Linked DNA regions of Homo sapiens: regions 1, 3 and 4 are each linked to region 2. Evidence: promoter capture Hi-C in 16 types of primary human blood cells and fetal thymus (Javierre and others, 2016). All regions are on one chromosome and are shown on one strand. The core of a region is centred on a gene start or on the middle of the fragment in contact, and the rest is flanking DNA. Distances in the headings are between cores, read along the strand shown. Region 1 has its middle 5.4 kb from the start of NDUFAF4. Region 2 holds the start of SYNCRIP (synaptotagmin binding cytoplasmic RNA interacting protein). Region 3 overlaps KLHL32 (kelch like family member 32). Region 4 overlaps EEF1A1 (eukaryotic translation elongation factor 1 alpha 1).

Region 1 (5,073 bases), core at 333-2,832, about 11 Mb before region 2:
GAATAAGGAATCTGAAGATACTAACTTCTAAGCCATAAAGTGCCAATCAAACCTAAACTATAATTATTAAAATGTTTCCTATTATATTAGTATTTTGTTATATAAAAGAATAATAGCTAATAGTTTTTGAATGTTTACTGTATGACAAGACTTATGCTTTCAAATGGATCATATCTCACAACAACCCTATGAAATAAGTAGTATTGTTATATTTCCATTTTACAGATAAAGAAACTGAATACCAGAAAATTTAAGGAGCTTACCACAAAATTATGCAGTCAGGAAGTGATAGAACCAAGATTCAGATGCAGGTTTGTCTGATGCCAAGCTGGTTAGTAATCATTATGTTACACCATGGCTGCTAAGAAAAGAATCAGAGACAGTTACAAAGGGAGAAAGGACCAGACAGACGGAGAGAACAAACACAGACCCTAGCTCTGGAGTTATTGAGTTGGGTTTACCAGTTAAGGTAAAATGCTTTGGTTACAACTTGCTTTTCACATATTTTCTGGGGTCCTTCTGGAATTCCCTGTTCTATATTCTTTATTTTCATAATCTTTCATAATCTTTGAAATGAAAATGATTTCTTGAGTATTTGCTTGTTCTTTGCATCTTTTCACTTTTTTTTCCCTGTGCCAAATTATCAAGACTACCTTCTGTAGCTGGGGCCAAGATGGACAACTGTTGTATTGATTAAATTGCTATGGATGGAAAAAAAAGATCTCATTGGAATCAAACCAAAACTGCTATGATGAGGTGTTCCTTACTTCCATATAAAGCAAGTTCATGAGGACATGGAGGGACAGATACAGTATGAAAGCAAACTGATGCAGCAGGGAAAGCTGGAGTGAAGAAAGAAGACAGGGAATTGTTATAAATGGGAATGGAGAGCAAGGGGAAAAAGCAAACTGATAAATGATGTTGGAAATTCAGTTGTTTATGGGGAAAGAATTATATCCTTACATCACAGAGTGATTTTAAATGTTGCCCTGTACATAATCACATCTGTCTTGTCACTATTTATTTGCCTATTCCTGTAACAATACCATACCATAAAGTTTTATATCATATTCTGATATAGGGTAAGTCCTACCTAATTGCTGTTTTTCTAAAATCTATTGGCTATTCTTTCATATTTTCTTTTCTGGATGAACTTTATTATCAGTGATCGAGCTTCATTAAAAACGCTATTACAATTTTAATTGAAATTGAAAGTGTATCAAATTAATTAATTTTTTGAATAATTGACATTTTTACACTATTCAGACTTTGCATCAAGGAACCTGGTATGTCTAGCCATGTGTGTTTCTTTATGTTCTTTCATAATTTTTGTGGTTTACTAAGTTTTAGTTTTACACATATTTCAAGTTTATTTCGAGATGCATAATAATTTTTGTGGTCATCATCCATGAAATTTTTTGACCATTATATTTTCTTTCTTTTTCTTTTCTTTTTTTTTTTTTTTTTTTTGACAAAGTCTTGCTCTGTTGCCCAGGCTGGAGTACAGTGGCCTGATATCGGCTCACTGCAACCTCCGCCTCCTGGGTTCAAGCTATTCTTGTGCCTCAGCCTCCTGAGCAGCTGGGATTATCGATGTGCACCATCATGCCTGGAAAATTTTTGTATTTATAGTAGAGACGGGGTTTTAGTATGTTGGCCAGGCTGGTCTCAATCTCCTGACCTCAGGTAATCTGCCTGCCCCAGGCTCCCAAAAGTGCTGGGATTACGGGTGTGAGCCATTGCCCTGGGCCTTGGTCATTATGTTTTCTAACTGATGGGTAGGATAGCTAGCTATTCAGCTACCTTATTAAATTTATTTATTAGATCTAATAGTCTTTGCCAGATTCTCTATAATTTTCAAGGCAGACAGAAGTGCTAATTTTGCAAAAGAACAAATAACATAACATTTATAATTCTTATTTCCTTTTCTTGTTCTTTGTGAGCTGGTCAATACGATATTTGCCATAATTTTCTGAATTGTACCCTTTATAAAGTAAAGGCAGTTTTCTTCTATTCCCTGTTAGCTAAATGTATTTTTAGTAATGGGTGTTGAATTTAACCAAATCTATATTGGGAATCCATTGAAATGATTACATAGGATTGACTGAACTGCCTTAATTTCTGGAGCTCAGGGGTACTCTTCCAGGCTTACTTGGTCATTGGCAAAATTAAGTTCCTTATGGTGGTGGGATTGAGATATCTGTTTCTTGTGGGCTGTCACATCGGGCCTCCTCTTACCTCCCAAAGGCCCTGAAGTTCCTTGCCATATGGCCTCCTTGCAGGTTCTCTCAAAGATCCTCTAACAACATGGCAGCTTGCTTCTTCAAAGCCAACAGGAGAATCCCTCACTCTTGTCTCCTAAGGTGGTCTTATATAATGTAAAGTAATCATGAGAGTGACCGTAATCTATTCTATTCTGTATCTATTCCTTATTCTATTCTTTTCTATTCGATTGTGTTATATTCATATTTGCTATATTCTATTGGCTAGAAGCATGTCACACAAGGGAATGAGAGTAAGTATTATAATTGTATATATATTTATATATATTTTCTTTCAATTTAAAAAAATGTCTCCATATTTATGATCGTATTCTTTCCAAAAAATTCTTAATGTATTTTATTTGTTCTTTTATTTTCACTTGAATTTGTCAGATTTTATATTCTCAAGGAACCAACTGTTTTTTTTTGTTGTTTGTTTTCTGTGTGGTTGATTTCTGCTTTATCTTCAGTCCTTTAAAGAAATTTTTTGATTTATCTAAACAGAAAGAAAAAAGCTGGCGGCAACATGCTACCTGACTTCAAACTATTCTACAGGGCTACAGTAACCAAAACAGCATGGTACTGGTACAAGAACAGACACATAGGCCAATGGAACAGAAAAGAGGAACCCAGAAATAAGACCACACACCTATGATCATTTGATCTTTGACAAACCTGACAAAAACAAGCAATGGGGGAAAGGATTCCCTATTTAATAAATGTTGCTGGGAGAACTGGCTAGAATATGCAGAAAATTAAAACTGGACCCCTTCCTTACACCATACACAGAAATCAACTCAAGATGGATTACAGACTGAAATGTAAAACCCAAAACTATGAAAACCCTAGAAGAAAACCTAGGCAATACCATTCAGGACATAGGCATGGTAAAGATTTCATGACGAAGACACCAAAAGCAATTGCAACAAAAACAAAAATTGGCAAATGGGATCTAATTAAACTAAAGAGCTCTGCACAAAAAAGAAACTATCAACAGAGTAAACAGACAACCTACAGAATGGGAGAAAAGTTTTGCAATCCATGCATCTGACAAAGGTCCAATATGCAACGCCTATAAACAAATTTACAAGAAACAAACAAATAATCCAATTAAAAAGTATGCAAAGAACATGCCCAGACACTTCTCAAAATAAAACATACATGCAGCCAACAAACATGAAAAAAAGCTCAATATCACTGATCCTTAGAGAAATGCAAATCAAAACCACAATGAGATAGCATCCCACACCAGTCAGAATGGCTATTATTAAAATGTCAAAACAAAAACAAAAACAAAAACAGATGCTGGCAAGATTGTGGAGAAAAAGGAACACTTTTACACTATTGGTGGGAGTGTAAATTAGTTCAACCATTGTGGAAGATAGTGTGGCAATTCCCCAGAAACCTAGAGGCAGAAATACTATCCAAGCCCACAATCCCATTACTGGGTATATACTCAAAGGAATATAAATTGTTCTATTATTAATAAAAAGACATATGCACATGTATGTTCATTGCAGCACTATTCACAATAGCAAAGACATGGAATCAACCTAACTGTCCATCAATGATAGACTGGATAAAATGTGGTACATATACACCATGGAATACTATGAAGCCATAAAAAGGAATAAGATCATGTCCTTTGCAGGGACATGGATGGAGCTGGAGGCCATTATCTTTAGCAAACTAACACAGGAACAGAAAACCAAATACTGCATGTTCTCACTTATAAGTGGGAGCTAAATGATGAGAACACATACACACATGGAGGGGGAACAACAAACACTGGAGCCTGTTGGAGGTCGGAGGGTGGGAGGAGGGAGAGAATCAGGAAGAAGATCTAATGGATACTGGGCTTAATACCTGGGTGATGGGATGATCTGTGCAGCAAACCGTCATCTAAAGTTGATGACTGTAGTGAACAAAACAATAAGCCTTCCAAAAATGTCTCTTAATCCCTGAACCTGCAAATGCTACCTTACATAGCAAAATGCACTTTACAAATGTGACTAAATCAAGGATCTTCAGATGGAGAGATTATCCTGGATTATCCACGCAGGTCCAATGTAATCATAAGGGTGTTACGATGGAAAGAGGGAGGTAGGAAAGTCACAGAGAAGGAAATGTGACAATGAAGTGATGCAACTGCTGGCTGCCAAGAAATGCGGGAAGTCTCTAGAAGAACCCCTTCCCCATTTAAAGTAAAAAAAAAAAAAAGGCATCCAGGAGGAATATATCTCTGCTGACACCTTGATTTTATCCTTAAAAATCTCATTTTGGACTTCTGATCTCCAAACTGTAAGATAATAAATTGTTTTGTTTTAAACCATTTGCGGTAATTTGCTAGCAGCAATGGGAAATGAATACAAATGAATACAATGACAAAAGTCATGAGTGCAGTAACCACAAAGCAGGCATCTGGGCATAATTGCTGGTTGATCATTCTAATCTCTAATCTGAGACCCAGTGTTCCTCAATATGAATACTGGATCTGCACAAAGCCTAGTTTGTTTTGGTTTTGAGTTTGTGGCACTACCCCCCGCTCCCAGTATTCTAGGTTTTACAGACCCAAAACACTGCATCACTATGAAATTGGCCAAACTTGGGAACCTTGTAAATTATTTCAGTTGGACTCCTACAAATTCTCTGGTTTCTAATCTGGAATCCAGGCCCTGGAGAGGTTCTCTCTGCCTGAACACCAGAACCTCTGCCAGAATAAGTCATTCCTCCATAAATCTGTTGTGCTCCTCACTAGTGGTTGAGATTTGATTGATGAAACCTCTGAGGGCTGTCCTGGGCCCCTTGAGCC
Region 2 (5,715 bases), core at 84-2,583:
GTATTGCACAACCCTTCACCACCGGGCGGTTTCGCTTCCAAATCTGGCCTTCGTGTCATCCCAAGGCAGGAGCCGCTCCTCGCTCCACTGGAGCCAGCCCCGTTCCCCCTTCAAAAGCAGCCGGGGTTTCCGCGTCCAAGCCTGGGGCGCCCCTCCCTTCGCCGAAGGTTCCCGTGAAAGCGGAGCCGCGCGGCTGCGAGGAGGGCCCACTGTCCAGTTGGGGAGATCGAGTCTCCAAGGGCGACTCTCGCACTCGAGTACCGCCAGTCCGGCGGACCAAAGGTCCGCGGGTCTCCGCGCCGCTCCCCTCCCCCTTGGCCCCATTGTCTGCCTCGCCCCGCCCCGGGGGACACGTGCGCCTGCAGCTTCCCGAGGAGGAGAGCGCGGGGCGGTGGCAGCGGCGTGGACACCGCCTGGAACGGCTACGCGGCCGCGGAGCCGGGGGCGGGGGCCGGGCGCGCACAGACCGGTGGGTGCCCTCCGGGAAGCGGCAGTCGCACTCAGCGCCCACAGCACTCTGCCCCGCCAGCCCCGGACCGGGCAGGGATGGGGCGGGCGGGAGCTCGGTGGGGGTGGCGTGCGCATGGTGTCGCGGGGAGGGGGTGGGGTGGGGCGGGGTGGGGAGATGCCAGTCTCCTGACAAAGGAAAACGAGTGGGACACGCTGAGCCGGCCCGCCCCGCCTGGAGGGGAGAGGGAGGGGGAGTGTCGGGAGGGGAAGGGGCGGGCCTTTCATTCAGTCTCGGCCCCTCGGCCGCCACCGTCGGAGCGGAAGGGCGGGGTCTTGTGCCTCCCCCACCCCCAACCCAAGGGGTGAGGAGCGGGGAAGGCGGCGCGGCGTGGGGGCGGAGCCCGCGGGCGCGCGTCCCGAGGCGTAGGCTACGTTGTCACGTCAGCGCGGGAGAGAGAAAGAGAGGAGCCGACTCGGCAGGGACTGGGGGACCGGGCCGAGAGTGCGAGCGAGCGAGGGAGGGAGTGAGGGAGCGTGCGAGCCAGAAGGGGAAAGGCGGCCACTCGTGCCTGAGCGACCGCAGAGGGGAGTGGGAGCAGTGGGGTAAAGGAGCGGGGGGCGGGAATAAGAAAGGCCGAGAGAAGGCGGACAGAGGCTAGTGGTGGTGGTGGTGGTAGGGGGAGAAGGAGGAGCTGGAGGAGGGCAGGGGCTGAGGGAGTGAGTGAAGCGGACGCGCGAGGGAGGGGAGGGAAGGGAAGGGAAGGGAAGGGGGGGTCACGCGGGGGCGCGCGCGCGCACCGGGAGCGCGCTCGGAGGCGAGTGGAACTGGATCGGGTTTGCTGCCAGCGGCGTGAGCTTCGGCCGCCATTTTACAACAGCTCCACTCGCGCCGGACACAGGGAGCAGCGAGCACGCGTTTCCCGCAACCCGATACCATCGGACAGGATTTCTCCGCCTCAGCCCAACGGGGAGGTAACGACTGCCAGAACCTGGGTGTGGGAGGGGAGCTCCATGACATTGTGGAGTGAGCTGGGGGAGGGTGGCGCGGGTAGAAACCGGCTTTTCTGGAAAATGGATTCCAATGGGGAGAAGAGCACGTTGACTGGGGCTGCCTGGGAGTAGGCCGCGGCCCGCGCCGCCACTTCCTCCTTTCCATGTGCTGCTGCGGTTCGGGCTTTGTCTGCGGCGCTTTGGGAGGAGGCGCCTCCACGGTCCCGTGGCCCGCACGGACCGCGAGCGGCTTCAGAGTTGGTGCTGTCGTGGCGGTCGCCGCGGCGCGGGAGTGGGCGGAGAGGAGTGGGTCTTGTCCTGCAGCCGTGCGGCGAGCTTGGGCGGTGCTCACGGTCCCGCGGGCGTTGAGCCGTCCGCTGAACGCCCTCACGCTGCTGGGTTGCCGGGCAGGCGTCGCAGTCACTGCACGGAAGGGTAAGGGGTGGGGACCTGCACAGCGCGCCACGGGTCACGTCTCGGCCGGGCGGGCGGCCGGGGGTCGTCGGCGCCCGGGGAGCGCCAGGGGCGGAGAGCCATGTGTCACGGCGGAGACGGCGGCGCTGGGGGGCGGGGAGAGCCTGTGGCCTGGCGCCGCCGGTGCCTCGGTGTTCAGGGGAGAGATTGTGCTGCTGCAGCTTTCTGGGGGCTCCGACCGCGGCTTCGGGTTGATGTTGGGAACCAGTGATGGTCGTCTTGGTTTGGGATTCGTTGGGTTGCCGTTGAAGGAAGTTGTAGGACATTGGAAGGCGCAGAGCACGTGTTTCTAATGGGCTCCTGGCGGCCGCAGTGGTGAGACTGCCGCTCTGGGTGCGGAGTCAGGGGCGGGCTTTGGGGTGCGGGGTTAAAGGGTGGAGAAATTGGGTGGTGGGAAGGTGGCTTGTATGAGCGCTTTGTTCTTCGCTGGCTGTTGTTACCGATCTATAAGCGGCAGGCGGGAAAAGCGCGCACTTTGGGGGTTTATCTTTGAGAGAGAGGAGCCCAGTTTTGCTTTCTCCACACACACCTCATTTTCCGAACGGGCACAGCTGCATGTGGCACGCTGGCTCGTACCCGTGCTGATTGGGCTCTATTTGTAATATGGTTTTTCCTAGGGAGTGTTAGCAGGTGAGTCAGGGGTGGTGCTGAGGAAGAATATGGTGAATCGGTCCTTCTGTGCCCTGTGCTCCAAATCTGGCTTGTCAGGCGATAGTGACTGTAAGGCTTTTTTAAAGGGAGGTATAGGCTAGCTGGTGTAGTAAATGGTAGAGAAAGTAAAGATGGGGCTCTCATATTGTCTTGTATTCTTTTTGAAGATCCTAGTTTAATTTTGCTTATTGCGTTTGAACAGATCTCTGGAAACATGGCTACAGAACATGTTAATGGAAATGGTACTGAAGAGCCCATGGATACTACTTCTGCAGTTATCCATTCAGAAAATTTTCAGACATTGCTTGATGCTGGTTTACCACAGAAAGTTGCTGAAAAACTAGATGAAATTTACGTTGCAGGTAAGAACTAACACTTGCAAAATTACATTATGAAATTTTTCTATTGGATTTCTGGCTTTGAGCTAAAATAGCAACTTTTTGTGGTTTCCAATAAGTGTGGGTACTGGAGTTTTGCTTGTTGTGATAGTTGGTTAATTTAAGTTTGAAGTAGAGGTTAAGATGTATAGAGGGAGGGAAGAAGAGAAGGTTAGGAGCTAAAGGCTGGCTTGCATGCTGGCCTGATGGATAAGTATATGATAGTAGCAACAGCTGCTAAATGTTGGGAACAGGCCATGTGACTTTTTTGAGTATTTTTATAGTAGGATTCTTCTTAAATAACTTGGTAACTGTAGACTTGTTTTCTTGTCTTTCTGGTGCGGCTGTTAACTTTTTCTGGTGGTATTTGAAATTGAGTAGAGGTTCAGTTGTCATGCTTGGTACTTTGTTGGTTGATTCTAGGATTCGTAAGTCTGTATACTGTAAAAATACCGTAGTGTTCAGAGTTATCAGACTTTGGAGATAAAAGATGTAAAAGAAGTTAGCTGATTATTGTAAGTGTGGTTGGTAGGGCATATTTAGTTCAGGATTCAGTTCAGAGTGGCTGAAGTGTGTGTTTTTTTTTTTTCAGGTATAGATGAGGGGAGTAGAAGAATTGTAAAGGCACACATGTACCTGTATTGCCAACATAGTCTTCTCTAAAAAATCTTTTCTAAAAATATTAAAAGCTGATAACTTTTATTTTTTTCAGGGCTAGTTGCACATAGTGATTTAGATGAAAGAGCTATTGAAGCTTTAAAAGAATTCAATGAAGACGGTGCATTGGCAGTTCTTCAACAGTTTAAAGACAGTGATCTCTCTCATGTTCAGGTAATGTTAATGTCAATGTGAAAATTAAAAAATTTGAGTAGTTTTGATACTATCTGCTGAATTTTATTAGACTCAGATATGGTTATTGTTAAATATTAATGGAACATTTTTTTGCAGAACAAAAGTGCCTTTTTATGTGGAGTCATGAAGACTTACAGGCAGAGAGAAAAACAAGGGACCAAAGTAGCAGATTCTAGTAAAGGACCAGATGAGGCAAAAATTAAGGTATGTCTTTCTATACTCCCTTTAGTTTTAAAGTCATTTTAACTGTTTCCTAATTTTGGTAAATATTCCTTGGGTATGAAATGGATGTATGTTAGATGTTGAGATAATTCATCAATCTTTCCTAATTCCTTTTTTTAAGTTTTTTTAAACTATTTGTTTCTAAAGCAATTTGCTGTGAAGTTTATCATGTTATCCAGCTACTGATGTTTAAATCTGTTCTATTGGTAGTCCTAGTATAAAGAAACACACCCATGATACCTCTAGAATATTTTTTGAAAAGCTGCAAAGCCAGCTTATTGACAGTTGAAATACTGATGGAGAATGTACATTTGGCAACTGGCTTTTTTTTTTAGGAGTCTCAAACCCCAATGAATTTAGAATGTTAACCCTGCTGCCCTCCACTTCCATCAGTATGGATTATTAGACTATTTCTCAAAGCAGCTTTGACAATAAGATTGTTTAGTGTGGGTATGTAGATGAGAAACTGAGGCTAGGAGGAGGAGGCTTTTTTTTTGGTTTAAAATCATGGTGAATGGCTTCAAATTCAGCTTGGTTTTGATATTTATATTGGTGAGTTTTCTAATTTATAGACAATGTGGTGATTGTATTACTTTTTAACCTGGTGTGCTTTGTAGTGTGCCAGTGCTCTTGAGCCAAGCGTATGGTTTAAGAAAATCAGTTAAGGGTATAGGCCTTGAGCATTGTTGTAGTGGTGTGGAAACAGGGAAAGCCTAGAATATGGAAAAGGTTGGTATATGGAGTTAGCTGTTTAAGACAACCATGAATTGGAGGCTTTCACAGATCTAGCTGTGAGTGAATTGAGTTTGATCTGTAAATCTAGTTTTTCCATAAAAGTGGAGTATAGTTGTCTCCATTGTAATTCAGTTGTAATCAAGTTTGCATTGGTGAGCTAGAACTAAAGTTTTTAAACTTTTAGTTTGTGACTTTTAGCTTTCAGTTTTTTTTGCAAGGGGGTGGCTTAATTTTTTGTTTGTTTGTTTGTTTGTTTTTGGGAGACAGAGTCTTACTCTGTCACCCAGGCTGGAGTGCAGTGGCGTGATCTTGGCTCACTGCAACCTCCACCTCGCGGGTTCGAGCAATTCTCCTGCCTCAGCCTCCCGAGTAGCTGGGACTACCGGTGGGTGCCACCAGGCCCAGCTGATTTTTGTATTTTTAGCAGAGGTGAGGTTTCACCATGTTGACCGGGATGGTCTCAATCTCTTGACCTCGTGACCCACCCACCTTGGCCTCCCAAAGTCCTGAGATTACAGGTGTGAGCCACCATGCCTGGCTGCTTACAGTTTCAATGAGAGCTAAGTTGTGGTAAAAAGGCATAGAGACATTTTTAGAGGAAGTTTGACAGAGGGAATAAGTTTTTCCTTTTTGTTTTTATGGATTGACAAAAAGTGTTATTTGGGTCTTAACTATTAAGGTTAAAAAATCCGTTTATAGCATAGGGATTACATGTGAGAAAATGGAAAGATGAGCTATTACTCATTTAGTTTATGTTATAGATGTGAGCAAGTTTATGAATGTTTTTATTAATTACAGTATTTTTCATAAACAGTTAGTGTCCTTTGAGTAGAAAATGTTAAAAATCTGTCCAGTAATTTTCAGAGACTGAGGTGACCCTAGATTATGCATTTTGATAAATTTTGTCAGATAGCTAGGATTAGTCTGTTTTTATTTCAGAATGTCCTAGCTAATAAAATTGGTT
Region 3 (5,406 bases), core at 428-2,927, about 11 Mb before region 2:
GGAAGCTGCTGCAGTTTTAGGCAAAGAAATATAGCCTCATTCAGGTTTTAAAACAAAATTTTTGGCTGCTGTGTGGAGAAGAGTCTATAGGAGGCAAAGAAGACCTTCTGGGGATCTGCTGCAATGATTTAAGCAACAGGTAATGTTGACTGGGACAAGAATGGTAGTGGGAAGTTGTGACATATGGTCAGATTCTGGGTATACTTTGAAGGTAGAGCCAACAGAATTTCCTGACTGTTTGGATGTAAGTTGTGAGAGGAAGAAGCTAAGGATGTTTCCAAGGTTTGGGTGCTGAACAACCAAAAATGGAGAGGCTCTGGATGAGGTAGGCTTGAAGGAAAAAAAATTGTAAAGCATGTATAGGGAACTATGCTACTATGTTCTATGTGCCAAATCATTTCACTTTCTTTGGGTGAGTTTTTAAAAGGCTTCCTTCACTATAAGGTAGGTTTCCTTCCAATATATTCATTAGTTAAGATACTTTAGAGAAATGAACGGCCATGCAAAATGTAGACATGTCTATTTAAAATCCTGATTCTTAGCATTCTTTATCCTTAGTCATTGGATTATGGAATATCTCATTTTCTTATAATTTCTTAATTATATTTCTAGTGACATTAGACTTAGCCTGCCTATAAAGGTCCTACTGCTGGCCCCAGCTGACCAACAAAAAGTACAGTGACACCAAAGGCAGTCAGTCACTCCTGAGTGATTCTCTTAAAGGGACAGGCTGAGCTGAGAAAAGGCCCAATCAATGTTGGGATACAGTAATAAAACCCGTGTCCTATCACAGAGCAAATTCAAGAAGCACCACATAGAAGGACCAAAATTCAAAGCCAATCTCTCTTAAGATTTATTTCTCCTTAGGAGAAACTGTGAAGAGATGGAGTAGAAAAAGGTCATATTATTGCATAGAGATTTAAATAAATATGTACTGTCATTTCCTGATGTAAAACAGAGATTTTCCTTTCTTTTAATTCTAAATTTACATATATTTTGTTCCTTCTTATTTATTCTGCACATTTGGTCACTGGACTTCTCTATGCAGTCATTATCATTAATACACAAGTTAGAAATACACATTAGACTCAGCAGCTGTGCCCAAGGCTATTACTCCCTATAATTTGGCACAGATGGCCAAAAAGATAATTTTGGCTGGATGGCCCAATACTAACCACCTAATGAGGCTGCAAGTTCAAAATCAATTGATGATAGACGCGGTTTCACAGTTAGTGTTCCCTCTTTTCTCCCAGACCCCTCCTCTTTTCCTTCACAAAAAAGGCAGAAGAGTCCAACCAAAATCTAATTTGCCGAAGTTCCACAGACAGCATTTACCTTACTTTATGGGGGGAAAAGGTAACTCAATAAAACAATTCTAGTCCTGAAATGGTCATTCTTCAGGTCAAAAGACTTTTTCTTCAAGTCAAAATATTATTAAGTATTAAAAAGTTTCCTGCAATAGGAATTGAGCAGGTTTGTACCTAACTCAACATCAGGGAAGCCATCACAATAGTCAATAATAATTAAATTACCATAGACAGGCAAACCTAAGTATGATGTCTGCCTTTCTCTCAGCTAGTCACACACCACAAAATGAATTCTCTTAAAATTACAATTAAGCAACATCCTGCCATGCATAACCTTGATCATTTTTGTAGATGTCGGCAATTCATTTATGCCTTCCAAGTTGTCTAATGGCAAGGTTTCTTTTTCTTCTTATCTGTATACTGGTGCTTAACAATTGCATATCTCTTCAAAATGCCTAATATTCAAAAGCACATTTTGAACTCTCGCAAAAATAAAGATCAAGCTACAATTTGAAACTGTAGTCTCTCTGCTCCTCATATCGTGCTATATCCATACTATCCTGCAGCAGTTCACTACTAACCTGTTAATCAATGACCCATAAGATTATATCCACAGTGGAAATGGCATTCTCCAGTTGGCTTACATAAAGCCATGTAATCACTATCAATGCTCTAAATCTAAAAAGTATAAAATTAAAAAGTATTTAGTTTTATCTTATGCAGAAATGTATGTTATTAATCAACCGAGCTACCATATGGACAACTATGAGGATATTAGCTGCTCTCTGCAGCAATCCGCCTAATTAGTTATACACAAATTTTAGTAGAAAATGATAACCTCTGTTTCAGTAGTAAAGATGTTAATCACACATCAAGACTTCTACCCAGACAGGGCACCTGGTTGGTAGAGAATTGTTTGTGTTGTTTAAATGTCCACTGAGTATCTGGAGAGCACTGACATCAGAACTGATTTAACTTGCTATTTTTTTGTTGTTGTTGTTAAGTGTCAATGACAAGAAAGCTGAGGCCCAGATCCAGATGGCCTGGCTGGTCCTCGGAAGGTAGGAATAAGAAGCAGAGTGTGAGCAGCTCACTGCACTCTAGACCACATCTCCCAAAGTAGACCTATCACCATAATTACTCAATGGGAGTTTCTTAATACACAAATGACTCAATACTAATGCAGATTCTCACACAGTAAGTATAGAAGATCCAGTAATCTATATTTTCGAAACAACCTCAGGTCATTCTGAGGACCAGCCTTGTTGCAAACCTCTAGAGTGCACGTATTTGCAGGACAGTGGTAAATATATGATTTTCTGACGCAAGGTCCTACAATGCCCAGTCAAAAGCAGTATCAGAGCACTCTTAATACAAACAAAGCACTTAACATATCTAATTTTATGTCATGGATGACAATGTGAGAAAAGTGAGATTATCTGTGTTATCCCAATTTATACAGGAGACTTAGGCACAGAGTTCTGAAGTCAAGGTCACTCCTTACAGAGTGAAAACTCAAGGAAACTGATTCCACCTGCTTTTGCTCTCCCAATCCACTTACTGTGTCAACCCCTAGCCTAACTGTAATCCACAGAAGCAATAACAGTGAGAGATTTTCAGTACTGATCTGTGACTCAAGCCACCATGAGTGACTGCTGCCTAAAGAAAAGGCCTTATTAACCCTGGCACTGTCCTTAGGAGGTCTCAAAACTGGCCAAGGAGGGACATGTGGCTGGCTCCTGGGAGATGACCCTCTGTCCCAGCTGAGATACTGGTGGGTGCTATTCCACCACATAGAAAGACTCTCTCCTGAAACTGTCAATATGCTTCCATCCCTGAGGTCAACCATGAGGCTCCAGATACAAAGGGGAAATGAATCACATCTAAGAACTAAGGAAGTTCTTGAGAGCAATGATAACCTGTGTTTCTTAAACATCTTGGTCAACAGTTGGCCACTGATGTGAAGGGCTCACTTAATGTTGAGAGGCAAGAAGTCTTCTTCCAACCTTGCCTTGTCCCTGCATCCAACAAAGGAGTCTTACACCAATAGCTGCTGACTGAGGCACTCTAAGTTTCCACATGAACAAAGAATGGATGGCAACGGAATTCTGAAGCAATCACAGGATATAAATCTCCCAAAAGAGGTCCAAGTAGAGGAAGCAGAATTCCAAGAATACAGTGCCCAAAAGGAAAAATTCAGTAATCAAGGCACGTGTTTTGAGGGGTAAGGGAATTTCATCCCTTACTGGGTCCAGGAGTAAAATATGTCGTTGTTTTCAAAGGCGTTATGTTGGGGTGATGCTCCTGCACAGATAAACCATGTAACTAATTCATCCTGTCCTAATTCCATGCTAGTGAAATCCTTAACCACTAAACCCTTAACCACTAGGAAAATGATGTGCTGGTCAAAGAATTCCACCCACATCTGCAAACCCCTTGGCAGTTACATATACAGAATATATTAATATTTGATGTTAAAGCAATTAACAAAATGTAATGACAATAATTAATTGCAGGCTTCTGATGGCTAACATTGATAAAAACAGCATGAAACACAGAAATCAAAAATTGGCAACTTGGTAAGGTACAGTGGCTCAGATCTCTAATTCCAGCACTTTGGAAGCCCAAGGTGGAAGAATTGCTTGAGCCCAGGAGCTCGAGACCAGCCAGGGAAACATAGTGAGACACCCATCTCTACAAAAAAATTTTTAAAAATTAGCTGGGTGTGGTGATACACACCTATAGTTCCAACTACATGGGAGACTGAGGTGGTAGGATTGCTTGAGCCCGGGAGATTAAGTCTGCAATGAGCTGACTATACCACTGCACTCCAGCCTGGGTGACAGAGCGAGAATCTGTCTCAAAAAAAAAAAGGGGGGGGGGGAAATTGACAACTTTGTGAAACAGTACAAGGTGAGAGAAGGGAAACATCAGAAAACCCTACAAATGACACTAAGACTCACAAATCTTAGGGATTTCAGAAAAAAGTCAAGTTAAATGCTATATAGAAAGGCCTAAGGGCTGTGCATGAGTTTCTTAAATGACTTTTGCTCTATTAGGAGGCCCCATCTGTAGGTGATCTTGAATACCTCCAAGAAATGATAAATAGCTTTGGCCCAAAGCTAAAGAAGATAAGCTATGGCAAAATTAAATCAGATTGTAGGTAATTAATGTTTTCATGGAAAAAAAAAACATTGATTCCATATTTCTTTAGGCTTTGAAATCTCAAAAAAAAAAAAAAAATAACCCAGTCAGTTCTATCAGCTCAAGGACATCAGGCTAGGAAAGACTAGTGAATCTTTATGCAGCCAAAGGGGCATCTGATTACATCTACACCACTGCCTATCACAAAACAGTATTTTTTTTAAGAGAAAGTCTCCTTTCAGAAAATGTCAAGCAGAGTAGATGAGGAAACAAGTGAACGAGAGACTCTATCAAAATAAATCTCCTCCACTCAGATATCCATATTAATTATGAACCTAAATTTCCAAAATAATAACCATAACTATTGCTTGGGGAGTAGTTTAGAATAAACTGGTATCTTCACATTTAGAGTAGGCTTTTTTTTCATAATGATTTTGTAACTTTGCTGGTCTGTGAATGTGATGCAGACAAAAGACTTGGCACTGATGTCATCTCGGCTACCATATTTTTCAGCTGAGAATCTACATCTCACTATAATCAATCTCCATTACAAAACATTTTTTACCATATTCTTTTCTGGAGCTATAAAGAAATGAGTAAAGGATTTTCTGTCTTTAACAATCACTAAACTTGTCTTTCTTATTTTAGGTATCTCAAGTAATGTTACCAACTAGTAAAAATGCATCTGAATTATGAAATTGCACTATATCTTTAGAAATATTGAAATATATAAACATATGCATACATCCATACCAGGTATAAGCAGAACACATTTAGCACAAGAAAAAGTATTTTATTTAAGGACAGGCTTTATAATCCATTGTATGATGAAAACAAAGCTTAGCTCAGTCTATGGGATCCTACAATATACTGCTCAGGCTAACTTCCTATGTGGTAGGCTGCTAGCAGTTCCTGCTGCTGTCTAGGTTCTTCTTAAGCCCATGAGCCGGGGGGT
Region 4 (5,137 bases), core at 1,002-3,501, about 12 Mb after region 2:
CCCCAGGACACAGAGACTTTATCAAAAACATGATTACAGGGACATCTCAGGTTGGTGGGATTAATAATTCTAGGTTTCTTTATCCCAAAAGGCTTGCTTTGTACACTGGTTTTGTCATTTGGAGAGTTGACAGGGATATGTCTTTGCTTTCTTTAAAGGCTGACTGTGCTGTCCTGATTGTTGCTGCTGGTGTTGGTGAATTTGAAGCTGGTATCTCCAAGAATGGGCAGACCCGAGAGCATGCCCTTCTGGCTTACACACTGGGTGTGAAACAACTAATTGTCGGTGTTAACAAAATGGATTCCACTGAGCCACCCTACAGCCAGAAGAGATATGAGGAAATTGTTAAGGAAGTCAGCACTTACATTAAGAAAATTGGCTACAACCCCGACACAGTAGCATTTGTGCCAATTTCTGGTTGGAATGGTGACAACATGCTGGAGCCAAGTGCTAACGTAAGTGGCTTTCAAGACCATTGTTAAAAAGCTCTGGGAATGGCGATTTCATGCTTACACAAATTGGCATGCTTGTGTTTCAGATGCCTTGGTTCAAGGGATGGAAAGTCACCCGTAAGGATGGCAATGCCAGTGGAACCACGCTGCTTGAGGCTCTGGACTGCATCCTACCACCAACTCGTCCAACTGACAAGCCCTTGCGCCTGCCTCTCCAGGATGTCTACAAAATTGGTGGTAAGTTGGCTGTAAACAAAGTTGAATTTGAGTTGATAGAGTACTGTCTGCCTTCATAGGTATTTAGTATGCTGTAAATATTTTTAGGTATTGGTACTGTTCCTGTTGGCCGAGTGGAGACTGGTGTTCTCAAACCCGGTATGGTGGTCACCTTTGCTCCAGTCAACGTTACAACGGAAGTAAAATCTGTCGAAATGCACCATGAAGCTTTGAGTGAAGCTCTTCCTGGGGACAATGTGGGCTTCAATGTCAAGAATGTGTCTGTCAAGGATGTTCGTCGTGGCAACGTTGCTGGTGACAGCAAAAATGACCCACCAATGGAAGCAGCTGGCTTCACTGCTCAGGTAACAATTTAAAGTAACATTAACTTATTGCAGAGGCTAAAGTCATTTGAGACTTTGGATTTGCACTGAATGCAAATCTTTTTTCCAAGGTGATTATCCTGAACCATCCAGGCCAAATAAGCGCCGGCTATGCCCCTGTATTGGATTGCCACACGGCTCACATTGCATGCAAGTTTGCTGAGCTGAAGGAAAAGATTGATCGCCGTTCTGGTAAAAAGCTGGAAGATGGCCCTAAATTCTTGAAGTCTGGTGATGCTGCCATTGTTGATATGGTTCCTGGCAAGCCCATGTGTGTTGAGAGCTTCTCAGACTATCCACCTTTGGGTAAGGATGACTACTTAAATGTAAAAAAGTTGTGTTAAAGATGAAAAATACAACTGAACAGTACTTTGGGTAATAATTAACTTTTTTTTTAATAGGTCGCTTTGCTGTTCGTGATATGAGACAGACAGTTGCGGTGGGTGTCATCAAAGCAGTGGACAAGAAGGCTGCTGGAGCTGGCAAGGTCACCAAGTCTGCCCAGAAAGCTCAGAAGGCTAAATGAATATTATCCCTAATACCTGCCACCCCACTCTTAATCAGTGGTGGAAGAACGGTCTCAGAACTGTTTGTTTCAATTGGCCATTTAAGTTTAGTAGTAAAAGACTGGTTAATGATAACAATGCATCGTAAAACCTTCAGAAGGAAAGGAGAATGTTTTGTGGACCACTTTGGTTTTCTTTTTTGCGTGTGGCAGTTTTAAGTTATTAGTTTTTAAAATCAGTACTTTTTAATGGAAACAACTTGACCAAAAATTTGTCACAGAATTTTGAGACCCATTAAAAAAGTTAAATGAGAAACCTGTGTGTTCCTTTGGTCAACACCGAGACATTTAGGTGAAAGACATCTAATTCTGGTTTTACGAATCTGGAAACTTCTTGAAAATGTAATTCTTGAGTTAACACTTCTGGGTGGAGAATAGGGTTGTTTTCCCCCCACATAATTGGAAGGGGAAGGAATATCATTTAAAGCTATGGGAGGGTTGCTTTGATTACAACACTGGAGAGAAATGCAGCATGTTGCTGATTGCCTGTCACTAAAACAGGCCAAAAACTGAGTCCTTGTGTTGCATAGAAAGCTTCATGTTGCTAAACCAATGTTAAGTGAATCTTTGGAAACAAAATGTTTCCAAATTACTGGGATGTGCATGTTGAAACGTGGGTTAAAATGACTGGGCAGTGAAAGTTGACTATTTGCCATGACATAAGAAATAAGTGTAGTGGCTAGTGTACACCCTATGAGTGGAAGGGTCCATTTTGAAGTCAGTGGAGTAAGCTTTATGCCAGTTTGATGGTTTCACAAGTTCTATTGAGTGCTATTCAGAATAGGAACAAGGTTCTAATAGAAAAAGATGGCAATTTGAAGTAGCTATAAAATTAGACTAATCTACATTGCTTTTCTCCTGCAGAGTCTAATACCTTTTATGCTTTGATAATTAGCAGTTTGTCTACTTGGTCACTAGGAATGAAACTACATGGTAATAGGCTTAACAGGTGTAATAGCCCACTTACTCCTGAATCTTTAAGCATTTGTGCATTTGAAAAATGCTTTTCGCGATCTTCCTGCTGGGATTACAGGCATGAGCCACTGTGCCTGACCTCCCATATGTAAAAGTGTCTAAAGGTTTTTTTTTGGTTATAAAAGGAAAATTTTTGCTTAAGTTTGAAGGATAGGTAAAATTAAAGGACATGCTTTCTGTTTGTGTGATGGTTTTTAAAAATTTTTTTTAAGATGGAGTTCTTGTTGCCCAGGCTAGAATGCAATGGCAAAATCTCACTGCAATCTCCTCCTCCTGGGTTCAAGCAATTCTCCTACTTCAGCCTCCCAAGTAGCTGGGATTACAGGCATGTGCTAATTTGGTGTTTTTAATAGAGATGAGGTTTTTCCATGTTGGTCAGGCTGGTCTCAAACTCCTGACCTTAGGTGATCGCCTCGGCCTCCTAAAGTGCTGGAATTACAGGCATGAGCCACCATGCCTGGCCAGGACATGTGTTCTTAAGGACATGCTAAGCAGGAGTTAAAGCAGCCCAAGAGATAAGGCCTCTTAAAGTGACTGGCAATGTGTATTGCTCAAGATTCAAAGGTACTTGAATTGGCCATAGACAAGTCTGTAATGAAGTGTTATCGTTTTCCCTCATCTGAGTCTGAATTAGATAAAATGCCTTCCCATCAGCCAGTGCTCTGAGGTATCAAGTCTAAATTGAACTAGAGATTTTTGTCCTTAGTTTCTTTGCTATCTAATGTTTACACAAGTAAATAGTCTAAGATTTGCTGGATGACAGAAAAAACAGGTAAGGCCTTTAATAGATGGCCAATAGATGCCCTGATAATGAAAGTTGACACCTGTAAGATTTACCAGTAGAGAATTCTTGACATGCAAGGAAGCAAGATTTAACTGAAAAATTGTTCCCACTGGAAGCAGGAATGAGTCAGTTTACTTGCATATACTGAGATTGAGATTAACTTCCTGTGAAACCCAGTGTCTTAGACAACTGTGGCTTGAGCACCACCTGCTGGTATTCATTACAAACTTGCTCACTACAATAAATGAATTTTAAGCTTTAAGATGAAGTGGCATTTCTTTTAACAGTTACTATGTTGGAATTGGTTACAAATTTTGGAGTGGATTTCAAAAGTGAGAGCTAACTTCAGTTGATTTCAAGGTAGTGCTTGGCTTTTTTTGTTTAGACAGGGTTTTACTCCTGCCCTGGTTGGAGTGGAAGTTAACGGCTAACTGCAGTCCTGACTTCTGGGCTTAAGTGATCTTCCCTGAATAGCAGGGACCACAGGTTTTTGCCACCACGCCTGGCTAATTTTTGTATTTTGCCATGTTGCCAAGGCTGGTCAACTCCTGGGCTCAAGTGATCTGCCTGTACTGTATCTTTCCCAGTTAATCTGATATTTATCTTTTAAATCTCAGATGTGCCAGGGCCTCGGCAGTGACTCAAGGAAGAACCCATGTGCTCTTAGTGGGACACGATTTGTTCAGACCTACTAACCTCAACCCAGTTTCAGTTCTTTATAGTGGAGAATGTTGACAGTTTACACTGACAGGCCACATTTTAGCATTGTGTTATCTTCATGGTTTTTTTTCTTTTGAGATGAAGTTCCAAACTTAGTAACTTACCATTTACTTTTTAGTGTAATTCTAAAAGATTTCATTCAGCTAGAACTACCCTGATATTTAACTGTCCTTTTTCTCTTACCTAATTATTGGCAATTAAACATTTTTGTCATTTACTTTGGGACTGTTTTTAGCAGGCCCATGGATCTCAAGGTTTAGTTTTGTGGGTTCTATGGGAGACAATGACAATGAAGATAAACGTTAATGTTGCAATAATTCTAAGCAAGGGATATTAGAAAATGAAGCAGGCCAGGTCATGGCTCACGCCTGTAATTCCACCATTTTGGGAGGCTGAGGTGGGGAGATCACAAGGTCAGGAGTTCAGACCAGCCTTGCTAATATGCTGAAACCCCATCTCTACTGAAAATACAAAATTAGCTGGGTGTGGTGGCAGGTGCCTATAGTTACGAGGCTGAGCCAAGATCACACCACTGCACTCCAGCCTGGGCGACAGAGAAAGACTTCATCTCAAAAAAAAAAAAAAAAAAAAAGCAAAAGGCTGGGCGCAGTGCCTCGAATCCTAGCACTTTGGGAGGCTGAGGCGAGAAGATCTGCTAAATACAAAAGAAAAGCAAGGTGTGGTAGCACATGCCTATAGTCCCAACTGAGGCTGAGGCAGGAGAATCCCTTTAGCTTGGAAGGTGGGGGTTGCGGTGAGCCAAGATCTTGCCAGGGCACTCCAGCCTGGGTGACAGGGCAAGACTGTCTCAAAAAATAAAGATGCCGGGTGCAGTGGCTCACGCCTGTAATCCCAGCACTTTGGGAGGCCGAGGTGGGCGGATCACAAGGTCAGGAGATCGAGACCATCCTGGCTAAAACGGTGAAGCCCCCGTTTCTACTAAAAATAAAAATTAGCCGGGCATGGTGGTGGGCGCCTGTAGTCCCAGCTACTCGGGAGGCTGAGGCAGGAGAACAGCATCAACCCGGGAGGCGGAGTTTGC

The links. Contacts are between HindIII fragments. The CHiCAGO score rates a contact against its expected background, and 5 or more counts as called.
Region 1: a contact is called between a fragment that was not itself captured here and the fragment with the promoter of SYNCRIP in region 2, in 2 of 17 cell types (non-activated CD4 T cells and naive CD8 T cells). The highest score is 10.3, in non-activated CD4 T cells.
Region 3: a fragment that was not itself captured here is called in contact with the fragment with the promoter of SYNCRIP in region 2 in 2 of 17 cell types (naive B cells and total B cells); the score reaches 9.8 in naive B cells.
Region 4: a contact is called between a fragment that was not itself captured here and the fragment with the promoter of SYNCRIP in region 2, in 2 of 17 cell types (total CD8 T cells and naive B cells). The highest score is 9.0, in total CD8 T cells.

The regions. Positions count from the first base shown.
Region 1 is chr6:96,900,737-96,905,809 of GRCh38, reverse strand. It overlaps a transcript of KLHL32 not described here. Among named protein-coding and RNA genes, the nearest start is that of NDUFAF4, 5.4 kb to the right of the region's middle. The HindIII fragment of the contact is 8,724 bases long and covers 1-5,073 here.
Region 2 is chr6:85,638,504-85,644,218 of GRCh38, reverse strand. SYNCRIP (synaptotagmin binding cytoplasmic RNA interacting protein) reads left to right here and starts at 1,333. Exons shown (of 11, transcript NM_006372.5): 1 at 1,333-1,422; 2 at 2,768-2,927; 3 at 3,655-3,773; 4 at 3,891-3,998. The coding sequence starts at 2,780. RefSeq lists silencers at 254-1,273, 1,864-2,013, 2,234-2,283. The HindIII fragment of the contact is 3,992 bases long and covers 1-3,698 here.
Region 3 is chr6:96,931,350-96,936,755 of GRCh38, reverse strand. The region is part of intron 1 of KLHL32 (kelch like family member 32); the gene reads right to left. Among named protein-coding and RNA genes, the nearest start is that of KLHL32, 9.3 kb to the right of the region's middle. RefSeq lists a silencer at 3,116-3,316. The HindIII fragment of the contact is 7,230 bases long and covers 1-5,292 here.
Region 4 is chr6:73,514,250-73,519,386 of GRCh38, reverse strand. It overlaps EEF1A1 (eukaryotic translation elongation factor 1 alpha 1), which reads left to right. Exons shown (of 8, transcript NM_001402.6): 3 at 1-50; 4 at 159-455; 5 at 539-689; 6 at 777-1,033; 7 at 1,123-1,357; 8 at 1,453-3,637. The coding sequence ends at 1,577. Among named protein-coding and RNA genes, the nearest start is that of EEF1A1, 4.2 kb to the left of the region's middle. RefSeq lists an enhancer at 1-17 and a silencer at 3,767-4,061. The HindIII fragment of the contact is 197 bases long and covers 2,153-2,349 here.